Regions from separate parts of the Homo sapiens genome. Here all the other regions are linked to region 1. The links are contacts of gene promoters, found by promoter capture Hi-C in blood cells and fetal thymus (Javierre and others, 2016). All regions are on one chromosome and are shown on one strand. The core of a region is centred on a gene start or on the middle of the fragment in contact, and the rest is flanking DNA. Distances in the headings are between cores, read along the strand shown. Region 1 holds the start of LYSMD3 (LysM domain containing 3). Region 2 has its middle 37 kb from the start of LINC02144. Region 3 has its middle 53 kb from the start of LINC02144. Region 4 overlaps TMEM161B (transmembrane protein 161B). Region 5 overlaps TMEM161B-DT (TMEM161B divergent transcript).

Evidence for each region. The method cuts DNA at HindIII sites, captures the fragments that hold promoters and counts their contacts. A CHiCAGO score of 5 or more calls a contact.
Region 2: a contact is called between a fragment that was not itself captured here and the fragment with the promoter of LYSMD3 in region 1, in 3 of 17 cell types (total B cells, naive B cells and M0 macrophages). The highest score is 7.0, in total B cells.
Region 3: a contact is called between a fragment that was not itself captured here and the fragment with the promoter of LYSMD3 in region 1, in 1 of 17 cell types (naive B cells). The highest score is 7.3, in naive B cells.
Region 4: a contact is called between a fragment that was not itself captured here and the fragment with the promoter of LYSMD3 in region 1, in 6 of 17 cell types (naive CD8 T cells, non-activated CD4 T cells, naive B cells and 3 more). The highest score is 7.4, in naive CD8 T cells.
Region 5: a contact is called between a fragment that was not itself captured here and the fragment with the promoter of LYSMD3 in region 1, in 8 of 17 cell types (non-activated CD4 T cells, total B cells, naive CD8 T cells and 5 more). The highest score is 13.9, in non-activated CD4 T cells.

Annotation. Positions count from the first base shown.
Region 1 is chr5:90,527,058-90,532,865 of GRCh38, forward strand. LYSMD3 (LysM domain containing 3) reads right to left here and starts at 2,527. Exons shown (of 3, transcript NM_198273.2): 1 at 2,391-2,527. RefSeq lists enhancers at 1,798-2,298, 2,924-3,183 and a silencer at 2,564-2,813. The HindIII fragment of the contact is 4,420 bases long and covers 1-3,624 here.
Region 2 is chr5:87,766,876-87,772,683 of GRCh38, forward strand. No RefSeq gene overlaps it. Among named protein-coding and RNA genes, the nearest start is that of LINC02144, 37 kb to the left of the region's middle. The HindIII fragment of the contact is 1,092 bases long and covers 2,682-3,773 here.
Region 3 is chr5:87,783,498-87,789,305 of GRCh38, forward strand. No RefSeq gene overlaps it. Among named protein-coding and RNA genes, the nearest start is that of LINC02144, 53 kb to the left of the region's middle. RefSeq lists enhancers at 3,590-4,336, 3,698-5,438, 4,337-5,083. The HindIII fragment of the contact is 480 bases long and covers 3,335-3,814 here.
Region 4 is chr5:88,253,863-88,259,670 of GRCh38, forward strand. The region is part of intron 1 of TMEM161B (transmembrane protein 161B); the gene reads right to left. Among named protein-coding and RNA genes, the nearest start is that of TMEM161B, 12 kb to the right of the region's middle. RefSeq lists an enhancer at 3,133-3,786. The HindIII fragment of the contact is 977 bases long and covers 2,518-3,494 here.
Region 5 is chr5:88,272,897-88,278,704 of GRCh38, forward strand. All of the region lies in intron 2 of TMEM161B-DT (TMEM161B divergent transcript), which reads left to right. It also overlaps the pseudogene RNA5SP187. Among named protein-coding and RNA genes, the nearest start is that of TMEM161B-DT, 6.9 kb to the left of the region's middle. The HindIII fragment of the contact is 2,104 bases long and covers 1,523-3,626 here.

The DNA of each region.
Region 1 (5,808 bases), core at 1,277-3,776:
TCATGGAAGCCAAAGCAAAATAACATCTCAAAGACTCACTATTTTTTGAATACTATGGATGAGTACCAAGCGAAACAAAAACAAACAAACAAAAAACAGAAAAGACCAACTCCAAAACTCTGAGTATATAAAATGGATGACAATAAATTACAAAGGTTGAGAATCCCTAACCCAAAAATCCAATCTTAAATACTCTGAAATTTGAAATACTTTGAGTGCTGACATGAAGCCACAAATGGAAAATTCCACAACTGACGTTTCAGATTTCAGATTAGGAATGCTAAACCTGTACAGGTATTCTGGTGATGTGCTTAGGTACCCTGAACACATTATTTTTTCACTGTATTAATGGTATTTTTTTTTTTTTTTTTACTGTTAAGCACTTATGTGTGAAAAAGTGTAAGAAAATGACTGCTTATTAGTAGCATACAAATTCAGAGTTAGGAATGACGGTGATGCCAAACAACCACAAATTTTCCACAAGGGTGGCTGAGATAGTGACACTTTTACCTGCTGATGGTTCCAGGTACAAGAACTTTTGTGCACAAATCATATAAAATTACCTTCCGACTATGTGTATAAGTTGAATATGAAACACAAATTTCATGTTCAGACAGGTCCCATCCCCAATGTATCTTATTATGTATATGCAAACATTCCAAAATCCAAAGAAATCTGAAACACTTCCGGTCTCAAGCATTTCAGGTAAGGACTACCCAACCTGTACTTTCTAGGCATATACTTATCATAAAATGCTTTAAAACTATTTAATATAGTTGAATCCAACCCTTGAAAAGCACTTTCTGACCTTGCTCTAATGGCAATATTATAATGCTTTAAAAGCTCAAGAGTTCCTATTCAGATAACACAGATAACTAATAGCTATATGTTAAGTAGATTATTTCAACTGTTCTCTGAAGTGCTACATTATTACCAAGAACTAGGATTCCTAACTTGACAGCTATGAAACTAAAGAAAACTATCACATTTTATATCTCAAAAGCAGTTTTGAAGTCATGACCACATCTTTTCCTCCAAGGATAACAGTTTTATTTCCACTCATTTAACCAGGTCTTTTTTTAATCTTGTGTCTTTAACCTAGGGAATGTCTTTGAATCCTGTAGATTCCAGGCAAATTTTATACATATGTATATTTTTCTGGGGAGAATTTTCATTGCTTCATATTCTCAAAAGGCATCCATGATCAAAAAAGTTAAGACTTAATATACAGCAATTTACACTTGGCTATACCGACCTACTTATGTGTCTTGTTAGACAGTTTCACCCTAATAATTTGTACTTAGAACTTCAAAATTGGCTTAGTAGTGCAGCTAACTGAAAATCACTAAGCAATGCCCCAAAGCCATTTTAGATACTTGTTTCTATCAACCTCTCTCCACGATATATTTCTAAATATAATTTAAAGGTCAGAACTTCACCTGTCTCACTATCTCTCCACTCCCCTTTATAATGAAATGCAGGCAGCTGACTATCGTGTTACAAATCTGGGTATTCTGAATGATCAAGAACTGGCTGTGTCTTCAACCGAAGTGAACAGACTGACCCAGGCGATCACTCCAGTCTACTACTCAGAGATTAGAAAATACATAATATTTAAGTCATCTGGCTCAATTCTATTCACCTCTCTTAATTCTCTTAGAGCAGGAAAAAGGCACGAACTCCCTTTCAGAAACTTGGAACAAGCCTGCGTGCTACCTAGATTACGAGGGGCCACAAAACAGTGTTAAAGCATTCTTCAGCTCAGTCTGTAACTGAAAACGGTTTCCCAAACACCTTCGTACTGTAGAATGGCTGCTGGGTGTTTCGCCTTGACCTTCTTTAACTAAGCAAGGTGCAATAAGAGGGTCACAGGGCACAAGTTAAAGCTGCAAAGGGACAGAATCAAAGGCACCCTATCCGCTGCCAGGGACAATTTTGTTTTTTAAAACTTAACTACCTCCTCCCTCTGTATTCCACACGTCAAGTTTTTCTTTCCCTGCTATCGTCAGCGAAGATTACGTCTCAGAGTCTTCTGTCACAGCATGACACTTGAACGATGTGACAAGATGCCGTCAGCGAATATTTCACGCCAACATAAAGTCGTGGGAGAAATGCTGTGTTTGGGTGGGAAATTAGCTGCCCAGGTAATCCAGCAGGTAGGCGTCCTTCCTCTGAGCCTCAGTTTCCCCGACAGTGTGACAAGAGGGCCTGGCAGGGCTGGTCTGGAAGTTCTTCCCTGTCTCGGGGGTGTCCGCCACACGGGCCGAGCCCGGCCCTGCAGCCCCCACCACACCTGTGGCCGAGGCTCAGCGCCTCCCGTGAGGACGCAGCTGGGGCTCAACCCCGCCCTCCTGGACCGGGCTACCCTCACCTCCTGCCACCATCTTTACCTGTCCCCGTTAGCAGGGAGCACTCTGCGAGAAGATGGCCAAAAGGTCCGCCGCCGCCGCTGTCCCGGGTAAGTTCATGGCCGAGCCTCTGCTTTGGGCTGACCCCGTCCGCCTCCGCCTCTGCCGCCAACGTCTCCGCCTTCCGGGCCGTACGCCGCCGCCACGTCCGCAAACCTGAGATGCGTCATCGCGTCAAGTGGGCGGAGGTGGGAAGGGGCGGGGGAGGACGCGGAGGGCAGCCCAAAACGGGGGAGTCCAACCACAGGTCCACGCCCGGCACGCAGGCGCAGGGACTCCTCCGGGGCCCGGGGGCGGGTCCAATCCCCGGGCCCGGGGGCGGGTCCAATCCCCAGCCCCGCCCTTGACTCCGCTCCTTCCGTGCCGCTTCACTCCCCGAGGAAAAGATTTGGTGGCCAAGTCAGCGGATCCAACCCGCGACCACCAGCGACCTACTGGCTGCGTCTTTGTCCAGCGTCCACACTGCGCTGGCAGAGACTGTCGGGTGCACCCTGAGGACGAGGCGTGGCTCAGGATGTGTCGGGGAGCTGTCTTGCATTTTTTTCTTGCTGTGCATCTCGAATTTTCTTTAGGGTGGGAAAGGACACCTCAAAAACACTGTTGACATCACGGTTTCAGAAAATTGCGCCATGTTTGTTACCCTTTTCATGCTGAAGACTCCAGACTGCTGCAGAAGAGGCAGAATTCTGGAGAGAAATCCTTGGGGGACCGAGGACGAGGGTTGGAGGGGGTTGTCTCACCCTTCCTGTTTTTAGGTGAGGGAAGTGAGCCACCTAGAGTCAGGCCCCAGGAAATGTTTTCCCTGGCTCGAGGAGTCAAGGGAGTCAACAAATTGTAATCTAACTTATTTTGGTTTGAAAATTAACTGAGTCATTGGTAGTCACCATTGGACTCTATGGAATATTAGCTTATTAAATAAACTCATGACTTCATACATGATTTTTATCACAAATGTGTTAAATGAGTATCATAATGTGTTTGAATTTATGTATGACTTTGGCAAAAGCCGCAACTACTTTTGCACCAACCTAATTAATGAATGTAAAGCATTTTAATGAGTCTGATGTCTCTCAGTGTTGATATTAGAGACGTTGCACTTTGACAACCATGCTAACTGTTACGACAATATCCATTTTAGGCACAAATAGCTGGGGTGCAGGGTGCAGAGCAGTGCTTTTCAGAATGTCTGAATATTTATACATTAGAAAGCCTTTGAAGCTTGGTTTTAAATTGTTTTTCAAAGAGTATGTTTTTGGTTTTCTGGTAAGTGCCTCTGCAAAGGTTAGGAGTTTTGCATTGCAATAGTTTTCTTTTATTAGCAGGGATAGGCACTGTGCTTCCCAGCGCCACAAAAAAAAACTGCAGGAGAAGACTTTTTTAAAAAGTTTGTCTGAATTGTTCTGTGTGTTGTTGCCCTCATGACACCCCTGTCTGTAACCATTTATCACTGAGACGTTCTCTCATCAGCAGACAAAGGATATATTCCCTGCTTGATATGTAGGACTTCGGCTGCTTAGCCCTCATGAATGTTAATGGGAATACAACCTTCTTTCTGTCTATAGGTTACTTTTCTTATTTTAATGTCAATAGACAGCGGAATTAATGTGAGAGCCAAAGTGATAGATTTCAAGCACTTCTATAGGACCGATACCTGTATCCTTCATATAAATAACTTTCTCAAAGATATCTGCATGCTCTTGAATAGTTATTTGTATTTAACAAGGATGCAAATATTAAACTTTTTATAAAAATGGAAGAATAGGATTATATTTTATTATTAGAATATACAAAAGAAGCAGTTAGCGTGAATTTTGGCCAAGTTCCAAAAAGCCGGCCAGTAGGAACAAGCATTTTGTCTTTGAGAAAAAGGATGTCCCCAGTGCTCAGCAGAGCCAAAGGATTTTTAGTGTTTCAAGATTTCACCTGACACAGTTTCTGTTAAAACGCTATAGATGAAAGAATATGTCATTTCTAGGAATATGTGTTTTAGTCACTAACGTTTAGTTTTTGTGAGTTGCCCTAGAGTAGAAGTTGTACTGAAGTGAGAGTGTAAATTGATGCAACCTGTTAGGCAATATCTATCAAAATTTTAAATGCAACTGACTGAACTATTACATTGCTAAGTAATTACCTTAGATTTACTTACAGACACATATGTGCAAGATTTAACAGATATGTTCAGGAATGTTTGCACAGTAATAGCCAAAATCTGAAAATATTTTAAATGTTTATCAGTAGTTGACTGATACTTCCGGTACATTAAAACAATATAATGTTATACTTGGTTTCAGAAGAGTGAAGTTAATCTGGCATTTGCTGATTTATTCATTCATTTACCTAATAAGTTTCTGTTGAAGAAAAACAGTGCTTAAAAAGACAAATTCCCCTTACTTATGGAGCTTGAATGACTGAAGCGTGTAGAAAGATCTTTAAAATGTATTTTAGTCTATTTTAGGAAGAAAAAATAGGAGGTATGATATTATTTCTATGGAATAAAATTTCAAATAAGCATCCCTCATCCTACCCCCCGTACCCCACCGACACACATATACACATACACATTCACACACACATATATGCAGAGAGATGCACTTAATTTTTCTATCTGGAAAGTCACTCAAGGAATTTTAACAGTGGCTGAAAAGGACTAGACATGGCAGGGGAGTAGGCAGGAAATTTTGCCTTTTCCTCTTAGAACTTTCTATATAGACTGAATTTTTATTACTACATGCTTTTATTATATTAAGAATTAACACATTTTATTTCTAAGTAACTGGACTTGTTTATTCTGGAGCTAACCTATAGTTAACCATCCATCTCTTAGTCATTCCTGAGTCTGTTTGTACTTTGTATTCAGGCGGCAAATGTCTGGAGAAAAGAACCAGATCAATTCTCTTATAAATCAAAAAATGAAAGGGTAACAAAACATTGAATTCTTTTTACACGTCTTCTTGATTTTCCTCTTTCTGATTTCTTTCAACCCTGCTCTTTTACTCTCTCCTCCTTCCTATTATTCCTATTTCTATCCTTATAGCAGCCTTTTCTATCCAGCTTCTACTTTTCAGAAGCAGAACTAGAAAGAACTGTTGGACAATAAGGAAATACTTTAAGTAATCTCAGATGAAGTTAAAATTGGATTATGGAGTGAAACTTAAAAAAAAAAAAAACTCCCACATCTCTGATCTTCAAATAACCTATGTAGAGAGAAAATTATTGTGTCTCTTCTCTCGAAGTGTTGGAAAAAAACAGACTGGATGATTTGGATATGTTCTGCTAGCAGGTGTACCACATGACCTCTCTAGCTGCCTTTAATCCTGTGATTTTTAAACATAATGATTATTGTAATCATGGCTTTGCCATAATGTGGACAAAAGAAGAGTCAGATATACTTCAGGAATCC
Region 2 (5,808 bases), core at 1,978-4,477, 2.8 Mb before region 1:
TTCTTTTCTTATAATTAAACAAAAGGGCAGCATTTATTTTTTCATCCAATTGCCACATGAGCTTTGTCTTTCCACTTCTCCCACTTGTCTTCTCACTCCACATATTGAGTATGAATGTGGGGACACTGATTCAATTATTTCAGTGTCAAATTGTTTGCTTCAGCTGTCATAATGGCTAACTATATGGCAATTTATTGGATTAAAAAGACACGACATCAAAATGAATACAATGTGCCTGATCTGTCATTCACCTATTTACTATACATGACAAAAAATTGATCTGTTAGGCCATCAAAATAGCTCTAGCCCACCTTCAAATTCTACTAATCTTATACAGAATAACCTATTTTACTTAAAAAACACACTGAGCTGAAGTTCACTCTTGCTGCCGTTTCTGCTCCCCTATTCCAAGAGTCTTCCAATTAAAAAAAAAACAACAGAATTTGCCGTATTTTCTATAGCTAAGAGAAAATTATTTTAATTTATATAAAATTTTAAAAGGGATAATTTATCTCTGTCTTCACTAATCAAAGCTCAAATTTGTAAAATGGAGGTACCTTTTCTGTTAGCGATAAGTACGTTAGTGGGAGAATTGGATGGCAGTGGTTGGAACTCGGAACATTTTATTTGAATTATATGTCACTGTATACAGACTCTTCCATGTATTTTAATTCTTATAACTTTTCCAAATGTCAACATTTAGAAATAAAATTGTCCATACTTTAGGGAGGTTTGCAAGTTTATTTCTTAAAAGCCCAAAAAATACCTTTTCATCCAGTTTTGTTATACAATATGAACAAGATATCCTGTTTCACTTTCAAAGAAATGTATTTCTGATTCCACATAACTCAGAAGTAATTAAGTAATTCTAAGTATTTTTTAAAATAACAATACACAATTGCCACTAGACTTAGAGTTATAAAATCATTATTGTTAGTGTGAAGTTTCTTAACAATTTAGTTTGGACATGAATACTTGAGTGGGGGATATATTGTCCATGACATCTATAGTCCTCTGGTTTAGTTCCAACAGGAAAGGGAAAAAAATAGAATTAAAGTTCAAGAAAAATCGTTAACAGTATAGGAAAAAACAGATAAATTATACATGAGAAGAAAGAAACAATATTTTACAAGCTACACAAATCACAGTTCTGTTAGACATTGTGTTGCTCTGAAGCTCTCAATTGCCTGTAGAATCACAACCAAACTCCTTAGTAACATCAAGTGTCAACATAGTTGTTCACACTTGATTTTCATCACTCCTCCTCAAGCAACTTATATTCCCCCTCTGTCTCGCTTATATTGGACTCCATGTCACACCAACATTCCTGCATTTTTCCCACCTGGATGCTTTTTCTCTTGGCATTTTCCTTTCCAGAATGTAGCAATTCTATCAGACTATTCTGTCCTTCTCCACTGCAGGCCAACTGAATGCATCTTTCAAGGCAGTGTTTAAGTGCTCTCTCCTCTATGATGTCATCCTTGATACAGCCAGACAAAATCTCATTGATATATTCTGACAGAATTTTGTGACTTTCTGTTCTTATTCATCATATTCTAGCTTTTATTATGGTTATGCACCTTACTTTTTTTATAGATTCTAGAATCCTTAAGCGTAGAGAAGGTGCTTTATTCATTCCTATTTCTCCCCGTAATCCCAGCACAATACCATACTGATAGTAGGAGATGAAGAAATATCTGTTTCATTCAACTGAACTGAATTTACACTAACTCCTTAGGGAATCCAGTAACCAATATTAAAAAGTTTCAGTGTATTTAATAGACTTTTCTCTCCTCCCCACCCCTTTAAGTGTATTTGGGAAATATAAAACCATTAAAGAAAAATTAGAGGTTTTAAAATTAGTCATGAGCATATTTCTCAAAATGTTGTGATCAAATATTGAAGTAGATAGAAAGATAAACTGGAGTCTGCTTGTGTGTTCCTAAGAATACACATTGGATGTGATTATGAAAAATTACTAGGTAGATGGCTTTGAGGCTAATGATTTCACAAGTTATTTAAATTGTCTGTCATTTAGAAGTGACAGACCTTAGTGTTCCTTCCACCTTGACTGAACTTAAGGCTTTTATCTGAAGGAGCTCTTCAATCTGAAGAGATAAAGTTGTATAACTTTCTTAATAACCACCTGGTACCTGGTAGTGAACTGTGTTCTTCCACTGGGACAAATGCCTTCTAATATTTTATATATTCCTGGTCAGTGACTTAAAAAAAAAAAAACCTACCCAATTGCAGTCTGCCATTCAAAAGGAATATTTCTGCAAAGAAAAAGATGTGAAAATGTAGGCATTCAAGTGAAAATTCAATCCTTCACAGTACAGAGCCTCTGCGAAGTCTTTTAAATGACCCTTTTTATCATGGTGCCATGTCTGTACCTTTCTGAATAGTGAGACCTGGTAAGAAAAATAGATGTATGTATACAAGTGGTTGAGTAATGTATTACTCATATGCACTTTGTTCTTTTTGGCAAACTGACCTTATCAAAGAAAAGAAAGCTATACATTGTGACAAGCTGAGCTTTACCAGAAAGTCTGAATTAGGAGTGCAAGTCCTCTGTCATCTGGATTAAAATGTGATCGGAAAAAAAAAAAAAAAGAATCATCATTTAACCTCTTCAGAAGGGGAGATGCTGGAAAATTGACTTCCTTTTAAATCAAAACCTAAGCTTTCTTATTACATTTGGACTTAGCCATCAGAGATGATTTGCATTAAAACAATTATATTATTTCCTCTAAATATTTGTCCACTTTTTGATGTTCAAATAAACAGTGTTAGATTGTTTGATTATCTATACTTTACAGAGGACTATTATAAGAAGTTTCTCCAGGACAAATGCTGTGCCTTATTTTTTACCTCTGTAGATGACACTTAAATAAAAAATTAAATTTTTGAATTAATATTGTACGGTAATTAGAAGGCCTTAATAATTTTTTTAGGAGCTTGTCCATTCCTGGAACTAGTTTAAAAAATACTATTTCCTCATGCTCATTTAACTCATTTTAGTGAAAATATTAAATTATTTTAAAAATTAGTGAAAGAATAATGAACCCAATTCATTCCTTTAAAAATAAACAGAGACATGGAATTCAAACTTGCTCATCTAGATATCTTTTTCCTTTGTAATAAGCAACCTCTTTTCAAATGAGTACATAAAGATGGACAAAATAATCTGGAATGGATAAAGCCAAGAGGAAAAAAAAAGACATTTTACATAGCACAAAGGCACATAAAACTATTGCTATTTTATTCACAGTAAAAGAGTGTGTGTTGCTGCTGCCCAGTTACTGTGCATGTGAATTCACCAGATCTAGACGTATTTGCCCAATTAATTACTCTGCTGTTCGACAATGATGGGTAATGGTCCAAGCAGCCTGCTCCTCCTCAGATCACCGATGGAATTCATGCACGCATAATGTCCTCTCTTCAGAAAATGATCCCAACAAGCTCTATAATTATTTTTTTCTTTTGAAATAAAGGCATCGATTAAATTATATGTTAAAACAGTTTGTGGGAGAAGAATTGGAAATGAAGCAGGATCTCTCTCTCACTACTTTTCTGGGTAGAAAGCTGGAAGATGAACTTCCCCATTCTACTCTTTCCAGGAGCGAACTTCGATATTAAAAAATAATTGCTGATCAAAATTGTTCATCGTTACCCTTAATTAGTCTGTTGGTTTTCAGTAGTTTTCTTCATTAACACAAATGAAGGTGTGTTCTTCCACGTTCAACGATACATGCTATCCCTCCGTGCTGGTAAGCTTATGATGTAGCAGATCAAACAAAGAACCCTCGTGTACAAATGCACAGCAGTCCCCGTAAACTGGGCTAATTAGCATTGTAATTAGCTCACGTGATAACTAAAACAAAGTCAGAGTAACACAGGAATCACTTAGAAAGGATATCAAGTGGTGTCGTCCCCCTTCACCCGCCAGCCCTCCCGCCCTTGTTTCTAATGCTGGGTAGAGCCCGGAGCCAACCTTCTTCGCAGCTCCCCACTCCCCAGCTCCCCGGCTCCCCACCTCCCCACCTCCTGGTGGTGCAAGCCAAGTTTTCTGCCGAGGCCTGGAAGTTAAGGGATGCGCAGGGCTTGCCTGAGGTTGCCATAGCGATGTTGTTGGGATATTAGTGTGGTGCACTAAATGTTGCCAGTTAAAGGAAGCTTACAAAAACATCTTCCCCCTTTGGCTTTGCTGGAATTGGCTGACAGTTCGCTTTATAAGCATGAGAACTGGAAGCAAGAGTGGAGACTTGGGCTTCCTTTCACGCAGATTTACCAGCTTACTTAGGAGTAAATGTTAAGTATAATTTGTGGAGTTCCACTCACACACTTCTACACCAACATGACTTATAAAACAGAAATCCCTAAATGGGGCCCACATGCCTAAATGGTTTTCTTTGGAATTTTACAATGTAATAATAGCTAAGGCATCTTGCTACTTGATGTGGGATTCTTTCTAATTTTATCCAATTATGAATAGAAGTTCCAAGGCTTTATTCAGAGGAAGTGAGGGCAGAGACCATCAATGAAAATCAAAAAGAAAAATTACCATTGTAGGGGAAAAAAAAGTCAATAATTGGGATAGCACTAATCCATTCTTTAAATAACTTTGTGTCACTTAAGATTAATGTGTTTTCACTCTTTATTATATTTGATCCTTACAACTACCCCGCAAAAGAGATATAGAAAATATTTTCATTCCCATTTTACAGAACAGAAAATGGCCTCAGTGGTTCTGAATGACAGAGAATGTAATCAGCAGACAGCATCATCCTCAGGCTTCTAGTTCAGTGAGGCTTCCATTATGCCAAACTGACTGTGCTTAAGGCTTTCGTTTCTCTTAAAGTCAGTGAGACTGGGCAAGTTGGTCTTTTTTTTTTTTTTTTTTTAATTATTCTTGGTTTAACTTAAACTCAATTATTATTTCTAATTTAAACTGTCTTATTTTAAATTGTTTTAAAGTTATATTTAAGCCCATTTCAGCACAAAAATATCAACCATTACTGAAAAAATTAAATCCATAAGAAAAATATTTTCAAAAAATTCCAATTAGAATCTATATACAAGGTGAGGAAACTGTCAGAGCTGTTAGTAAATGCGAATCATAGGGGCTAATTTTATTATAATACATTTAGCATCGTATAAAATCAGTATCTCTGAGTCATGGTACATCCACATCTTTCTAGTGACAAGAATAGGATTCCCTAAAGCTCTCAAATACTGCAGTCTCTTTTTCTAATACCAGTGTTTCATGCATATTTTGGAGAATTAGATGTGTATGATAATTGCTATACTTTAAAAGAATATTCATGTGATTAACATACATGAAAAGACAAAAATTTTGACCTAACTGATGAATCGATGGTCATTAGGTCTATTTTCACCTCAATTTAGTCTGTTTAATAGAATCTGATCAATTAGTTTCCAAAACAGCAGATCCAGTACTATGTTAGATGTGGCTTAAGTGGAAGGATTAGACTGTTGATCCTCAGGATTGATGGTGAAAGCTTGGTAAATATTCATAAAATGTTATTTGAAATTACCTAACAAATTAATCTGAAAGAAGGAAATAGATACAATATTAGTAAAAACTTATATTTATATCCTGTGTAATATATGAATAGTTTTAATAGAGATGCAAGTTGTTTTTGGTATTTGCCACAAAATTAAGTATAAATAAGTTTGCTCCAATCATAAAATAAAAATAAGGAACCTAAAGATACGCATTTGGAGTGCCTACTGGGAATTACCCGATCCACAAAAAAAAAGGTGTATTCTCTGCTTATACTTTCT
Region 3 (5,808 bases), core at 2,325-4,824, 2.7 Mb before region 1:
ATGCAAACAACCAGAGAAAAAAGAATAGAAAATGTTGTAAATGCTTTTGTAGATGCAGTAGGCGAAGCAGAAAAATTCAAATTCAAATTATATTTGGAGTCACACCAAGCAGATGTAACTAGTATTTGAAATTATTAGTAATGCATTGTATTCTCATTTGTCAATTAGTTCTCTGTAATGTCGGAATTCATAAAATATAAAAGAAAATCTATTGATCAGAATCTCACTTAAATAACAAAACGTTTGTTTTATTTTGTTGTTCGGAGAAAGTCTTTTAATATTGATTGGCTTATTTGTCCAGGTTAATTGAATATCAAATAATTTAATAATTAAATGTTCAAATAGCTGAATATTTAAGCATTAAGCTAATTAAGTATTGATCCCTGTGATAATAAATAACATTAAATAGCAGAGTTGTGATTATACAGAAATAAGCTCTTAAGTTTTTCTCACCTAGAAATTTTTTGTTTCATGCTGTAGTGAAGATTCTACAAAGTCATTGTATATTTTTAAGAAAAACTAAAAAGAGACCCACCAATAATTTGGAAACTGTTAATAAAATAAGTGTACTTTCTTTTAAAAACTGCAAAATTACCCTTTTGTAGACCAGAATATCATGTTTGAATTACATCTTTTAAAATAAAAATCTTGTTGGAACAAATTAGGAAAATAAGGAGGTTTTAAAGAAAGCCAGAGAAAGCATATAACATCTTAATGTGACTGAAATTAATATCTCTTTAATATGAGTAATATAGAAGAAATGGTTTTTTTAAATCCCCCATTGATTTGGGGAAGACATTATACTTGATTGTTGACTATTTCATTTAATTCCTTCACACAAACTTAAGTCAACTATTCCAAAAATCAAGAAAACTTTATCAACATAGTATATTAATTCTAGTTTTCCAAGTGTTTTCACAAATGTCTTCCCACAATGCACTGCCCTAAGTATTTAATCTGTGACCAAGGCTGGGTCACCAATAAGACCAAAGTGATAGCCACAATCTCCATTTCCATGTGCAGTCTCATCAGCCTCAGAACGCTTAGTTTTCCACCAGTCTCCAGTTACAAAGGGCTGCATTCCCACTTTTATGGAGTACAAGATTAAACACATAAAATAAAAAAGTAAAATAAAATAAAGTGCACTAAAACCAAATGGCAGATATTTGAATATAATTAATGTTGGACTTCTATTATTTGATTACACTAAAGATAATATGTGTCTTTGTTCCAAGAATAATATGTCTCTTTCCTCCTTCTCTTCTCTTTGCTGCTTGAGTGAATTGTTTATAAACATGTAACATTCTTCTGAAATGAACTGGGGATGGGGGAGAATGAGAAAGAATGAAATAGAGAAAGAGAAACAGAGAAAAGTGAGACAGAGACAGAGAAACAGAGACAGACAGAGGGAAAAGGAGGAAGGAAGACAGAATTCAGATCATCTGGAATCCAGAAATCTGATTCTGCAGGAAATACGATAGGAGGGCCTATACTACTTTCAAAGGTTAGCTTTAGTTAACCACAGCAACATACAATTCTATAAACTCTTCTGTCTCGGTTTCTTTCTCTCTTTCTCTCACATAGACATATGTGCACACATAACCACACACACACAGACTCATACAGGCCTCTGCCCCAAAATGAAATAAAGAGGGATGTATATTGCTAATCCTCAAAAACAACCATTTGCACCTGGGGTTGGCAATGGCACCAAAAAGCCAACCACTTTTTCTACATTACAGTTCATTAAAATGCCACTGACAAGTTATGTCTTTACAGGAAACAAAACGTATCCTGTTCCTTAAGGAAAATCCAGATAACTAGAACCAATACAAGCCCTTACCCCAGTTTGCTAAATGGGCTCAGGCGAGATGGAGGAACAGCCTGAAACACAAAACCATTATGTGAAAAATAACATTAGTAATTAATCTGATTGAATATTTAAAGCAACATTTTTTTTGAAGTCATCAAGATGTTTTTCCAATCTTCATCAGTCCTCCAGATTTTTATTATTTATTGAATGATCACACAATAATAATATCCCCAAGTATATAACCCATGAGTATATTGGTGCAGATCAAAATGAAAAAAATCTGCTAACAACTTCATCAGGAATCCAAAGGCTTAGGTAGAATTAGAATTCAAGACATCAAAAACCTCAACAACCTATTTAATCCTTTAACCACTAGGCCACACTCTCTTTCAAAATTGTTAATAGAAACAACATTGCCCTTTTTGTACAGCTGTAGATGCCCTATTGATCTGTATCACATAGCATTTAACACTGGATGATTTGGCTAGGAAAAGCAATGTTCACTGTTCCATGGCAAATCAGACAACAATGCTAAGATTTGCTATAGAACCAGGAAAATAGCATAGGAGATAGGGAAACAACAGCCACACAGAACAAACCTCATTTGCACGTTTTTCACAGCTATTTTTTACTCCATAAGAAAGCAAAGTAGTAGAGTGCAATTGTATTAAAAGTAAAACTATTTCTGCCTAACGCAGATGTGGATCATGGGAATGGAAACCTAATAAACCAACAGCTGAAGGCCACATTATTGCCCTATCCTCCTCCCCTAGCTCATTTAGAAAATGACATGTTTTTCTTCACAATGTTTTTCCCCTCCTCTCTTTTTAGTGGCAGTAATGCTGAATGCTCTTGACATAATTCTTCGTTCACCCCTGACAGTCATTTTTTTGAATACTATCCCAGCAATAAAACACCTGACCTCGAGTCTTTCAAATGGCCATTGGCTTAGGTTACCCCAATTAGCCAGACTCATTTGGAAGTATCCAGAGGAGTCAGGTGCATCACTCTTCACTAAACTCAGCATTCGGAGCAAACACATCTTTTTTTAGGTCAATTTATTTTTCTAAGGGATTTTTCTATTCCTCTATGATCTAAACATAGAAAAATAACAGGTTTAAAAAATAATCTACAAGTATGTAGAATTCCGATACCAATATTTCTGCCTTGGAAGTCATATAGGGCAACATGCCTAGTTCCCTGAAAGTTGCTTTTCAATATTTAAGGATAATTGAGAGAATTAGGTGTACAAGCATCAATGGAGAGCGATTTTATTTACATATAAGGAAGCTACATGTCTGCATAACTTAATGAAAAGACATACACACTTTGTGCACAGCATACATCTGTGATATCTGTATGTTTGGGTCAATGTATTTTTGGAGTACAGATCTCCCAAATCAATAGCTCTTTATTAGAATCCCCTTAGGTGGAGAAGAAAATGTGTACCTCCAGAGATAAAAGTATGTTTATTACATGTTTGTGTGTGTAATTAAATGTAGGATTTTGCCTCAGGAATAAAGCTTGGACTAAATATAAATAATAATTAACTGAGGCTTCTTAGAGAATTTTGGCAAAGGAAAATGGATATTTTCAACATAAATGAGATATGAGAAATTAAAGGTATATTTAAATTATACTAAAGGCAGGGCCCTTTAATTTTCAAATTATTAAACAATTAAAATTTTAAATTATTCTGAACTAAAATGCATGTTTATGTTATGTTTCTGATACAGCAATCTCTTTGCTCCGTTTATTTTGTATTTAATATTTATCAATAAGTACAAGACTTCCTAACAAATGTATAATTTTTTTTCCATGAATCTTTTAGAATTTGTGTGCGCTACACAATTTTGTCACTTGGCACATTTTTATTCCTTCTTAAAAAGGACAAACCATGAGAATCCTGATAGACTATACTTGAAATAAAATAGGAAGTCCACACAACTGAAGGTGAACAAATAATGCAGGCTGAAATGAGTATCTCTTCGAAAGACTACAAGCTTCCTTTTGACATTCAAGCAATTCAGTAAGGAGGGAAAGCGAAATTGAATTTAGCCGATGCAAATGAAATTAAAACTAAATTGGTTGTCACATCAAACTGATGTTAACTATGTAAATGTTTTCTGTTTATGAAACTACAGTTTAGAGTATATAATTCTGCAAAAATAAGAATATTTTTGTGTTCTTTTAAAATATAAATTAAAAGGGCAGATTATGAAATTGTTTAAAATCCTTGCCACTTACCCACGTAATATCAAAGGACCTATGAATCATGAAAACTGTGGACATAGAGTATTGAAATAAACATACACATATAGATATGCACATCAATACACATGCATGCTTTTCTGGCCAAGCAGTACCCCATTACATCATTGCTTCAAATGCATTCATTCTCTTCAATATTGTTGGCTGTTTCAGGTTAACTACCAAAATCATTTGCCTGAGAAGCGAGATTTAATTGTCTTACAACTACCTCTGTGAGGTACAATAGGGATTACAAGTACCCATTGATTATACTATTGGGTAGAATAAGGGACTCTTATTCTAGCATTTCTCATTCATTTTGTCATTGCATTCTCTTTGAAAGAGACCAAATGGGTCCCAGCAGGTGAAAGCAAAGAAACCTGAAAGGCCCCCTTTGATGAATGACAATACCACAACCACCCTCCCCCCCACCATTTTTGGAGATTATAAAACCTTATTAAGTCATGCCCTGTTAGATATTGATTGAGAGGGAGCTAAACTAAAACCAACAATAGCAGCATGGATCAGAGAACACTGCTTTCATCAATGGGCACTAAACACAGCTAAGCTTTCCAATCTTTTCTGGGGGGGCAGGGTGGGGGGACTTTTTTTTTTACTATTTACTTTTGTTTAAACCATTATCCTAGAAAGTCATACAATTATAGCTACTTTGTCAGTTAAGAATAAATCGTAGTTGTCTAGCACTTCATCTTTTTGAATGTAGCAGTGTATTGCACAAACAATATTATACTTGGTTAAGATTCAGGATTATTATTATGATTATTGGGGGGTGCAATTCTGGGTAATTATCATAATTATTCTTGACTCTGGGACTCCTTTGATGACAACGTTGCTTTAAAGTAAACCACTTGGACATAAAACCCAAGATATTTGAAAAGAGACTGCTGCCAGAATCAGAGTTGAAAACTCACCCATATTTTAAAGCTATCTTGATTATCAGGCTGTTTGCGTTCCTGGGCTGTCTTTTCTGCCATCTGTGAGCGCCACAGCAAACAACCCCTTTATGACAATCACCTCAGTATAACTTGAATATGTCTGCTTTAGAGGAGACTTCTGTAATAAGACTCTGTGCTAATTAACTGTCAGCCTTTTTAAAAAAATAAATAAATAAATCAGCAGACTGCATTTTAGAAAGACACTCCACCAAAAAATTCCCAAACAAGATTTAAGTTTATGTGCCAGACTGTAACTTCTACTCCATGTTTTTTCAGGCCTTCCTCTGAGTAAATCTGTTTACTTTAAATACTTCTCATGTGATAAAGGTTTTCATTTTTCTTGCCAGTTGACTACAGGTAGTAACATTTGCTCCTCCTTCTAAACAGCTACTTGATTCAGTAACGTTATCCTCCAAAAATAAAAGAAGACAAAAAAGAAAGGAAAAGGAAGGAAAGGAAAAGAAGGAAGAAAGAAAGAAAAGGAGGGAGGAAAGGATGAAAAAGAGAGAGAAAAGAGTCAGGTGTAAAAAAAACTTTTTTTTTTTTTTTTTGGCCAGAAATGGTAGTTACATGGCAAAAAAAAAAAAAAAAAAAAAAAAAAAAGAAAAAAGAAAAAGTAAATTAGGGTTGTTGCTATTGAAAACAATAATAGTTAAAAGGGCCAGACACTAAAATTATTAGTTTAATATTAAGGATAAATAATTTCTAGTTCAAGAGAAAGAATTATTTGTAGAAACAGCATTATATTCACTGAAAATGACTTTTTAAACAGTCTCTAGAAACCATAAT
Region 4 (5,808 bases), core at 1,756-4,255, 2.3 Mb before region 1:
ATTAGTAATTATCTCTGTAAGTTTCAGTAAAATAAGACTTAGGTGATTATGTAAAGATAAAATGGAAATAATGGGCATAATCATTGGATAAACTAAGCAATAAAAGAAAAATCTGACAGTTACTAGAATACATATATATATAAAATATATTTATTATAAGAGAGAAATGTACATGCTTGAAGCAAAAGGGAAGGAACCAACATTAGGGAGGTGCTGAAGAGTTAAATGTGGGAATTTAACTGCTTAAGGGTCAGAAATAGATGAGATCAAAAACATAAAAAAGTTTATCTATTACAAGATCTCATATATCCTACTGAATTGAAAGCACATATAGGTATGGAGATGTATTAATTCTGAAAACAGAGGTCTCACAGTTTATATGAATTTGATCAGGGTAGTTGAAAAACTAGGTCAACGTTCTAGATGTCCTACCTTCCAGTAGATAGAGTTATTTGAAGAACTTATTATAGATTATTTCAAATTTCAAAATTCAAAATTCTCAGATCATCTCCTAAGAACCACAATGGGGTAAGGAGTTGAGCTGTAAAAGAAAGGAGAGGAAGAAGGGACAGCTAAAATTTGTGAAAATTTTGACAAAAGAGGAACATAGAATTGATTGAATGATTGCCAAGCACCTGCAAATCTGCATGATTCAGCATATTAGGTAAAAACATCAGAAAAATGATTGATTTAGCAGGATGTGGTGGCTCATGTCCATAATCTCAACACTTTGGGAGGCCAAGGCAGGAGGATTACTTGAGGCAAGAAGTTCAAGACCAGCCTGGGCAACATAGCGAGACACCCTTCTACCAAAAGTAAAAACAAAAAAATTAGCTGAGTATGGTGGCATGTGCTTGTAATCCCAGCTATTCAGAAGGCTGAGGTGAGAGAATCACTTTAGCCCAGTAGGTTGAGACTGCAGTGAGCCATGAGTGCACCACTGTACTCCGGCCTGACAAAGTGAGACCCTCTGTAACTGTAAAAAAAATTTTAAGGGAAAAAAAAAAAAAAGATTGATCATCATGGGACATTATACAGGTTACAAGAATAGGAAAATCCAGGATGATTAAGTGGGTAATCAAAAGAACCAAAGAAAGCACCAAAATGGACAAGGTTTGAAAGAAAAATTTGAAGAATAACCACACCAAGATCAGGGTCTTCAAAGGAGGAAAAAAATGTCATGTCATAAGATAAAAACCAGAATTACCACTCTGGCAATGTGACTAAGAGGTCTAGAAACTTGAGAAGAAAAGTGTGATGAAACTATGTATGTGGAACTGATGGACCCAAACTGGGTTTTTGAAGATGGTTATTTCCAATAGGTTCTTTGGTAGGTCTGAGGACTGTCTAATCCAGAAGAGAAATTCTCCCATATAATGCCAAAGCTGATAAAAGCAGCACAAAACAATCATGAAGAGACCAGCAGACTTCCTTCCCATAGAGCATCTCTGGTATCCCACTACTGTGGCCTTCACTGGTTTTCTAACATACCTGCAGCGCTTACAGACACAGTAAACTGGACTGGAAGTAAAAAATGGGGGCCTATACTAAATATGAAATGAAAGAACAGAAGAATTTGGTAGAAAAGCAGCTAAAGAATAAGAACACCTATTGATATCTAATGTACATTTATTGGTTGAATCCTATGAAATTGCTAATACTTAATTGTCTTGACCTACAAAATGGCAATTTCATATAGTTCATCTTAATATTACAAATAGAATTATAAAACATAATTGTCAACAACTATAATTTGAACTCAGATTTATCTATTTCCAAATTTAATTGTTTACAGAATTAATTGGGTTTGTCAGCACTGTTTTACAGCATAAAATACATTTTTAATTTCCTTAAAAAGTGAAAGCATAATTTTTTTGCCATTTTCTAAATCAGAAAAACAAGAAATTTAATGTCCTTCCAAAGGTCAAAAAGCATAAATCCTCAATACCTCAGTACAGCTTTTTGACCCTTTCAAAGGTCAAAAAGCATAAATCCTCAATGCCTAGATACATTCTAAATTTTTTAAAGATTAGAACTACAACAGTAGAATGTGTGAATTTGATGTAACTATCTTAAAAAATACCAGCTCCAGACTTTCGGATAAAGATGACAATATAAAGTCATTTATCAGATTTTGATTAAATTTAGAAATAAAAAGACATTTTCCGCAGTATAAATGACAAGGCAAATGGAAGACCAACAACAAAGAGGGAAAGGAAAAAGATACTTTTTCATAACAATAGAAAACATTCTAATTAAACACAAGTCACAAACCATTTTAACATATTGGTGTTCAAATTAACAGTTGTTTATTTTAAAAGATAACTTTCCACAGTTAAAAGAGGTTGAATAAATAATGTAATATCTCATATAAAGCAATGCCATAGTCATTAAAGTGTTGACAAGGAACAAAATATTCTTAAACATATTAACAAGCCACTTAATCTCTAGCCAAGACATGCATAAATGTTTCATTACAGTACTAAAAAGTAACAAATAAAAGGTTCAATGGAAGAAAGCTTCCTAAATTCTGTCACTTTTCCTTAAGAGTATTTTCTGACATTATAGAAAATATCTCTACAGGTATGTATTCAAAGAAGTCATTAGCCAAAATCAATTAATGAAAAGACATGTTTGACATGTACAAATCAGTTTGTTTAGACCAACTGCTACTGAGTCTTCAACATTCATGTGCACTATAAAACGTTCATTGACTTTCCAACTTCTACTAAAGAACATATGCGTAACTCCAAAATAACCTGTATCATGCTCAATTGTGACCACTAACTTAAGGGTCTCTCCCCCTTGAAAATGGCATTCATCTCATTTCTTCAGCCTCCATTCCCAGGAGGGTGGGAGATGGCAGATATTAAACACAAGTTGAATAAATCTTTACCTTTTGATAAAATAAATGGATAAAGCATAAATTTTTCCCACTGTTCTTCATTGCATTCAGGTTCCTACTGTGTGTCACACACTAAACTTTAGCATAAAGAAAATTATTCACTTTAAGAGTAAAAGACAATATATTGTGCTTTCTCCTTTCTCAAAGGAAGGAGTACATCTGTTTTTACAAGACAATCTCCTCATTTTAATGAGATAGCTTTGTGTTACAAATACTTTCCTTTTAAGACCAGGTGCAGTGGCTAAAGCCTGTAATCTCAGGGCTTTGGAGGCAGGCAGATCACTCAAGGTCAGGAATTCCAGACCAGACTGGCCAACGTGGTGAAACCTCCTCACTAGTAAAAATACAAAAATTAGCCAGGAGTGGCAGCGACAGCCTGTAATCCCAGCTACTTGGGAGGCTGAGGCACGAGAATCGCAAGACTGGGAGGGGAGGTTGCAGTGAGCTGAGATCACACCACTCACTGCTCTCCAGCCTGGGCAACAGAGCAAGAATTTGTCTCAAAAACAAAAACAAAACAAAACAAAACAAAAACACCTTTCCTTTTAACAAACTAAAAATCAAAACTTTGCTCAAAGTGCACTGAGAAAGCTTCATTAAATAAATTTAATATAAAAATTTCAGCTTAATTAAATTTTAAGCCATACACAAAAGCCAAGAAAATTTGTTAAGTTAGGTAAATGCATTCATTGTGAATATTTTTAATGCATTAAATAATTAAACACACTAGGATCGAAGTAGTTCCGTCACTAACTAGCTACACAGCAATTAGAAAAGCTCTCCCTGGGATTCTTTCCTTATCTACAAAATGACAAGAGCTGGCAAATGATCTCCAAAATACCAAACAGATCATGTTGTCTATGATTGCAATATTTTAGCTAAATACACAATTAATCATTGGCATTCACAGATTTAACATTTCTAAACCACCATCAAAGCCTGTGTAATTATTGCTAATGGCAATGAATAATAATCCATTCTCATAAAGATTAAATAAGCTAATATTTATAAGACCTGAAAGGAAATCAGAGTTCCAAATTAAAGGAGTAAACCTAGCCTACCACCCATCATATTCACCTCAATTAGTAGTTTGTGGGAATTTCTCTTAAGAAAGACTTGTGAATGCCAACAGTTCCATAGTTTTAAAAAAGATCTATCTCTCAGATACGTGGCCAATTCTCTCTTTTTAAATGATTCATTTTCTTTATAACCTGAACATTTTCTTTTCAGTGGCTATCAAGAGAAAGAACTATGATGACATTAAACACTTCTGATAAGAATGATTAAGTGGGAAGCTCTCTATTAAAATCAAGAATAAGCATTCAGTAAATGTTAGTTGAAATCAAATTAGAAAATAGTTTTAATCATCAAGAACTAAATGTCTCAATTAAAGTTATGACCTGCAGTACAATGAATGTTTTTAAAGCGTGCTTATCTGTCCCTATTGACTAGAAAACATATTTTGTTGGCAATTATTTCTAATTCCAGTTATCCAGGCTCTTTTCTACTTTTTCGTAAAGATTGTGATAAGAAAAGACTGCTATATTCGACACGCAATATCCTACCCAAACAACTAAACTGTCTAGTAATAACTGATACAATGAAGCTTCATTGTCCTGATGTTAATTAATCTCACAGAGGAAGGGAGGAAGGAGTAAGTATGCATTAATTTAAACAAATAAAATTCTAGTAATAAATTTAACCATCAATAAAAACAAACCTTTCAAGAAAAAAATGTCATGCTTTCTCTCTTGACCAAGGGCGAATGCAGAAACAAATGGTTCTAGTTATGGAACACGAATACTTAAATACATATCCCCATAAACCATAAGAATTTGATCATTTATATTCATTGTAAAAAGGCCCAAAATCTCCAGAAATAACAAAAATACTCAATAATAATCAAGTTAATGAAGTTTTGGCTTCAGTAACAGAACCTTGCTGTATGACTTTTTCTTTTAGAAAAAGAAAGCAGGAAACTATGGCATTGCTTTTTCTAAGTGGTTCAGCACATTGGGGCAAATGGTGGCAATCACCAGGTAAAAGATAACAAAAATCAGCTAAGCGCTGTGTAAAGGGCAGACATAAGATAGCTATATAAACAAATAATTTAGATTAGTATTTCAAAGGGCTTCTAATTACTTATCACAAAGATAAAAGTATTAATCTTACTTTAAAAACAGCCATAGCCTTACAGTATCAAGTACTCACGGCATTAACTATTGGCAATCTATAATCATACATTTATAAAATGGAGCAGAACAGCTTGTTGAAGTTCCTTCTTCATAAGCCACTTCTACTAGTAGAGAAAAATCTCCCTTTCTCTTTGCAGTGCCACTTACTATTTATCTCATCTCCTCTTCACAATCCGAACCTCTCTACTTCCAAAAATTTACAACATCCCATCATTATTGTCTCTTTCCCCTAAAGGATTTCTGTGATAAGTAAGTAAATAAGTAAATACCTGTGAAGCAGTAACATGGGAATATGACCTATGAAATTCTCCTAGCAGTAAAATCCCTTAAAGGAACTATGTCTGCTGAATGTATGGAAGGGAAGGCAAGGTACTCTACAAGATTACATTCTTCTTTGCAACCTGAAGAAGAAACAAAGTTCTAATTGAAAATAGCCCAAGTGGAAAGAAGAGTCCTCAGGAAAAGAACTGGGATAACCGTGAGATAGGCTTGGAACAAGTGTAACTCACTAAGTGCTTACACTGATAAGAAATTCAAGTTCAGCACAACTCATCCCCAATTTCTCAAATTGCTCTTCAACTCATCAGTGTTACTAGAAGTGCATCTTCAGGCCTAAGAGAAACTAAGGCTTTGGTGTAAAGCAGTGCCTTCAGTGGATGCAGTTAAGGTAGAAGAAATATGAAAGAATCTTATGACTTACTGCAGCAG
Region 5 (5,808 bases), core at 1,325-3,824, 2.3 Mb before region 1:
ATGCCTATAATCCCAGCACTTTGGGAGGCCGAGTTGGGCAGATCACTTGAGGCCAGGAATTCAAGACCAGCCTGGCCAACATGGCAAAACCCCCTCTTTACAAAAATATAAAAATTAACCAGGCATGGTGGCACACCCCTGTAGCCCCACCTACTTGGGAGGCTGAGGTGGGAGGATCGCTTGGGCCTGTGAAGCAGAGGTTGCGGAGAGCTGTGATGGCACCACTGCACTCCAGCCTGTGTGACAGAGCGAGACTATCTCAAGAAAAAAAAAAAAGGATGAGGATTTTTTTTGTTTTCAACATGCTTTTTAACATCCACTATATTACTCTCATCTTTCTAGGCTGGAAAAAAAAATGTTTTAAATGTTATTCTGAAGTATATTGCAACCTTTAACAATTCAGTAGACTTCTGAATTTTTATTTTCATGTAGCTTACCACAGTTGTATCTAGGAATATATCACATAGCTGATTAATTGGTGAAATAACCCTTGCAATTTTACACAGGTTGTACAGTGCACATTTTCAAGGACCACTCACATACATCCATTTGATATTTTTTGGTATCAAGAAAGTCTTTAAACAATCAGTACCACCAATAGCAGTAAAAAGACAAAACTGTCTGAAAGTACCTATCTGTTTAAAACTTTAATTAGCTTTATCCATCCATTAAATAGTTATTGAATATAAAACTGTATCATTCACTCTTCTACACTCTGAGGAAATAGTGGTAAATAAAGCAGATATTGTCCCTACTATCAGGAAATTTACATTTTAGTAGTAATAAGCCATAAATTAACAAAAACAGAAGACAGTGGTAAGTACTAGGCATGAAATTCAAACATGACTATTTTAGATTAGGTGATTAAAGAAACTAAAATACCATTTAAGCTGCTGTGTAAATGACAAGAGAATCCAGCTTTGTAAAAATTGGTGAACCCTTTGCTTGCAGAAGGGACAACTGCAAAATCTAAGGCATGATCTAGCCTGGAATATTTCAGGAGCCAAAAGAAGGCCTGCATGGTTAGAGAATAGTGACTTAAGACGCAAATACTGTAACTTTGGAGGGATAGGAAAGGGCTAGATCATGTTACCTTTGAAAGACAGGAAAGAGTTTAGATTTTATTCTATGTGCAATGGAAAAAAAAATGAGAGCATTTTAATCCAAAGAGTAATATAAGATAATATATTTTTAAAATCCACTTTGGTAATTTGTTAATTGGCATAAAGAGTCAGCTTTCATGTAACATAATTACTAACATACTTGGATTTAAATTTGTCATTATTCTTATTTTATTTGTCCCACCTCTTATATGTTCATTTTGTCTTCTTTTGCCTTTTTGATTTTTTTTTTTCTTAATTAGGCCATAGCACCTGATATTCCCAGGCAGACTCTCATCCAAGTGCCAATCAGCCCCAGCCCTGCTTAGCTTCCCAGATCAGATGAGAACAGGCATATTCAGGGTGGTATGGCTATAGACCTTTTAGATTATTTTTAATTATTCCATTTTTTCTACCTCATAAGCTTGACAGATGTCTTTTAGTATCTTTTTACTGTTCACCTCAGGTATTAAAACATGGAACCTTGGTTTATCATCTTTAAGATAATTTGGTATTATACTTCTTCCAGGACAATGTAAGGACCTGCGAACACATCAACTTCATTTACTGCCACACCTCATGTTATATACATTGTATATTCTTAATATGTATTTCCTAAATTCTCAAGACATTTTTTATACAATATGAATTTACATTTCATATTGTATAAAACATTTACTTTTTCTATTGTGTTTCGTGGTTCCTGGAATCTGAGCTTCCATCTAAGACCTTATTTCTTCTTGAAGGACATACTTTAATATTTCTTCGAATATCTACTGGTAACAATTCATTCAGATTTTCTGTCCTGACACTGTCTTATTTTACTTTCATTTTCTAAGAACGTTTTTGCTGAATTAGCAGCTATTTTATCATTTTGAAGATATATTTTATTCCTTCTGGCTTCCATTATGTCCTCTAAGACATAATGTCCATTTTGTTTTTTTCTCTTCAAAGGTAATCTTTTTTTGGATGGCTACTTTTAAGAGGTTTGTCTTAAGTTTGGTGTGCCCACATGTGTTTTGTGTTTGTTTTTTTGTGTGTGTGGTTTTTTTCTGCTTCGAGATTGATAATGTTTCTTGAATCTGGCTGTGATGTCCTTAGGCTGTTTGAGAAAATTCTTAGCTCTGTTTGATCAGACATTGCTTCTGCTTTCACTCTCCTTTCTCCTCTTCTTTTGATACTCCACTTACATTTGTATTTGACAATTCACTTTGTCCCTTGTATTTTCCATTTATTTTCTTGTCTGTTTCATCCTGAATATTTCTTCTTAACTTTCAGTTCACTATTTTCTCTTAGTAGTCTCGAATTTGTTAAATCTCTCTTGAAGCATTTATTTTAGTTATATTTTTGGTTATCAGTTCAAACATTTCTACTTGATTCTGTTTTATTGTTTCCAGTTGTTTATCCAATATCTCAATCTTTTATTTCCTCAAACATACTAATCATAATTACTTTAAAACCTGTATCTAATAACTATGGTGTCTGCTATTATCTGACACTTTTCTTGTTTCTTGCTGTTATCACATTGTCTTGCTTTTATGTCCCTTATTTTTATGTTATTTTGTATTATTTATTTTATAAACATTATAAATATATAAAACTTGGCTTAGGTTATGTTTTAATTGAATGTCAGAATTGTTTTGATTGAACTGTATATGAGGAAACTATACTTTGAAGTCCAATATGATGGTATTTTCTAAAGAAAGAATTTATGTCTCCTGGCAAGACCTTTGGACACTAGTAATCTAAGATCTTCTTAATCTGGTTAGTGATAGAGACAATTAGAATATAGGCAGGTCTATTTCCTGTTCATACTTTCACAATGTAGACCTCTGAAGTCCCAACTCAAGCATGCAGAGTTTACCAGATCAGGCCCTAAACTTCAGTTTTTGTCTTTTTAATTCTATGGGTTAGAAACTCTGTTCAACTTTTCAGCCATCACCTCAGGAATCAGAAGATACTCCAGAGGAAAAGCTAATGTAAATGCTGGATTCAACAACTCTGTTTTTTCCTTCTGAATATTTCATTGTCTCTAATGCTGTCAGATGTTTGTTTTATATTTTGTCCAAGCTGAGTGTGGTGGCTCACGTCTGTAATTTCAGCACCTTGGGAGGCCAAGGCGGGACCATCCCTTGAGGCCAGGAATTTGAGACTAGCCTAGGCAACATAACAAGACCTTTGTCTCTTGGAAAAAAATAAATAAATAAATATTATTAGAAGTGAAAATGGGGATGTTGTTACAAATGCTGTGGAGATTGATGAGAAATTATGAACAACTTAATAATAAATGGGAAAATATAAATGAAGTAGGCAGTTCCAGAAAATGTAACTTTTCAAAAGCCATGTAATGGAAAATATAAATGGTGGGATGTTGATGTAAGAAATCATGATGCCCAGAGACTTTTGCCAAACCTTCAAAGGACAGATCATTACAATTTTACACAAACCATTCCACAGTATATTCCACTTATATACTGTGGAATTGGCCCTTACTGCCCTTATCAAATTTAACATCAAGGTTACAGAAGCTTAATATTACTGCCCTGATTTTATTAGGGCAGTAATGATTTGATAAGGGCAGTAAGAATTACAGCCCTGTCATATTCGCAAAGACAAAAATCCTAAATAAAACAGACCTTAGAAAATGTGTTTTTAAGAAAAGATAATAAAACATGATCAGGTTGAATTTAACCCAGGAATGTATTTTAGTATATTAAGAGATTAGAAAAACTATCTGGCTATCTGAACAGATGCAGGAAAAGAAAACTATTTGAAAAAATTAACAGACATAGATAAACCTTTGGGCAAATTAGAATTGTGTAGAACTTCCTTGAGCCAATAAAACCTACAACAACAATATTTTAAGATGAAGTATTTGAAGCAGTCCATTAGAATCAGGAACAAGTACTATGTTGGAGATCCTAGCCAGCATTATAAGGCAAGAAAAACAAAAGATTAAAAATTGTAAATAAACATAACTTAGTCTACAGATAAATTATTGAAGAGCTTTGCAAGGATTCTGAATATACTATTGATATGGTTTGGATCTGTGTCCCTACCCAAATCTCATGTTGAATTGTAATCCCCAATGTTGGAGGTGAGGCCTGGTGGGAGATTGGATCACGGGAATGGGTTTCTCATTCGTGGTTTAGTACCATCCTCTTGGTACTGTCCTTGAAATAGTTCTTAGGAGATCTGGTAATTTAGAATTGTGTGGTACCTCTCCCCTCTCTCTTGCTCTTGCTCCCCCTTTGCCTTCCACCATGATTGGAAGCTTCCTGAAGCTGCCTCAGAAGCAGAAGCCACTATGCTTCCTGTACAGCTTGCAGAACCATGAGCCAATTAAACCCCTTTTCTTTATAAATTACTCAGTCTCCAGTATTTATAGCAATGTGAAAACAGATAATATGACTATCAATATACAAAAGTGAATTGCATTTCTTTCCAGCAGAAATGAACTGTTAGAAAATGATTTTTGTAACATACCATTTACTATATTCCTTTAAAAATATAAATTAGGTAACTTAACAAAAGGTATAGAAGACCTCTGTAGAAAATTACAAAACTTTATTGACAGGCATTTAAAAATGTCTAATTTTAAAATTGCCATGTTCAATGATTAAAAGACTCGAGTTAAGATGGCAGTTCTCCACTACACAATGAAGGTAATTGCAATACAAATCCCAAATGAGTTTTTCAAGGAGCTTGACAAACTGATTCTAAAGTCTGTATGACAAAAAGCAGAATTCAGGATACTCCAGAAGCAGATTTAAGATAGAATTGACTTGTAGATATTCGTAACAGCAAAAAAATAAAAACAACTCAAATATCCATCAAAAGATAAAATGTTTATCCATGAAAAGATACTCAAAAAGTGACACCTTTATATAATGGGATATATTTGGCTGCAAAAAGGAATGAACTGCTAATACCTGCTATAATGTGGATAAACCTTGAAAGCCTGCTGAAATAAAGAAGCCAGTCACAAAGGACCACTTATGATTCCATTTAAACAAAGTGTATAAAGTAGAAAATGTATTGAGACAATAGATTGTGGTTGTTTAGGGCTTACAAAGTTTGGGGTGATGGGGGCCCGAGGTAGTGACAGCTAAAGGGTGCAGTTTCTTTTTGAGGCAATAAAGTTCTAAAATGTATAGTTGCACGTTTCTGTAGATACACTAAAATCAATTCAGTTGTGCATTTAAATGAGTAAATTGGTATGTGAATTGTACCTCAATAAATCTGTTAAAACCATAGTAATTAGGATATTGTAATACTGGCTTAGAGATGGAAAAATTGATTTATAAGGAATCCTGATTGTAAGGAATCTTGACTTATGTCAGAGATGGCATTGCATACCAGCAGGGAAAGCTAGATCATTTCAATAGATGACGCTGCATATTCATATGGGGGAAAAATGAAATTGGTCCTCCCTACCTAACACCATACAGAAAAAGTAGTTTCAGATGACTTTAAGATGTAAGTGTGAAAGGAAAACATAGTAAACCTTCAAAAGAAAGATTGCAAAATATTTTTATGATCTTATGGTAGGGAAATGTAATATGTATAAAGGAAAACATGTATGTCCAATATGTTAAAGTTAAAAACCTCTGTTCAAGACTCCATAAACCCTCAGAATAGCGGTTAATTTCAGTCATGCCCAGGAAACATACAAGATGAGCCTGGAATACCTTGTGCAAGATAGCAA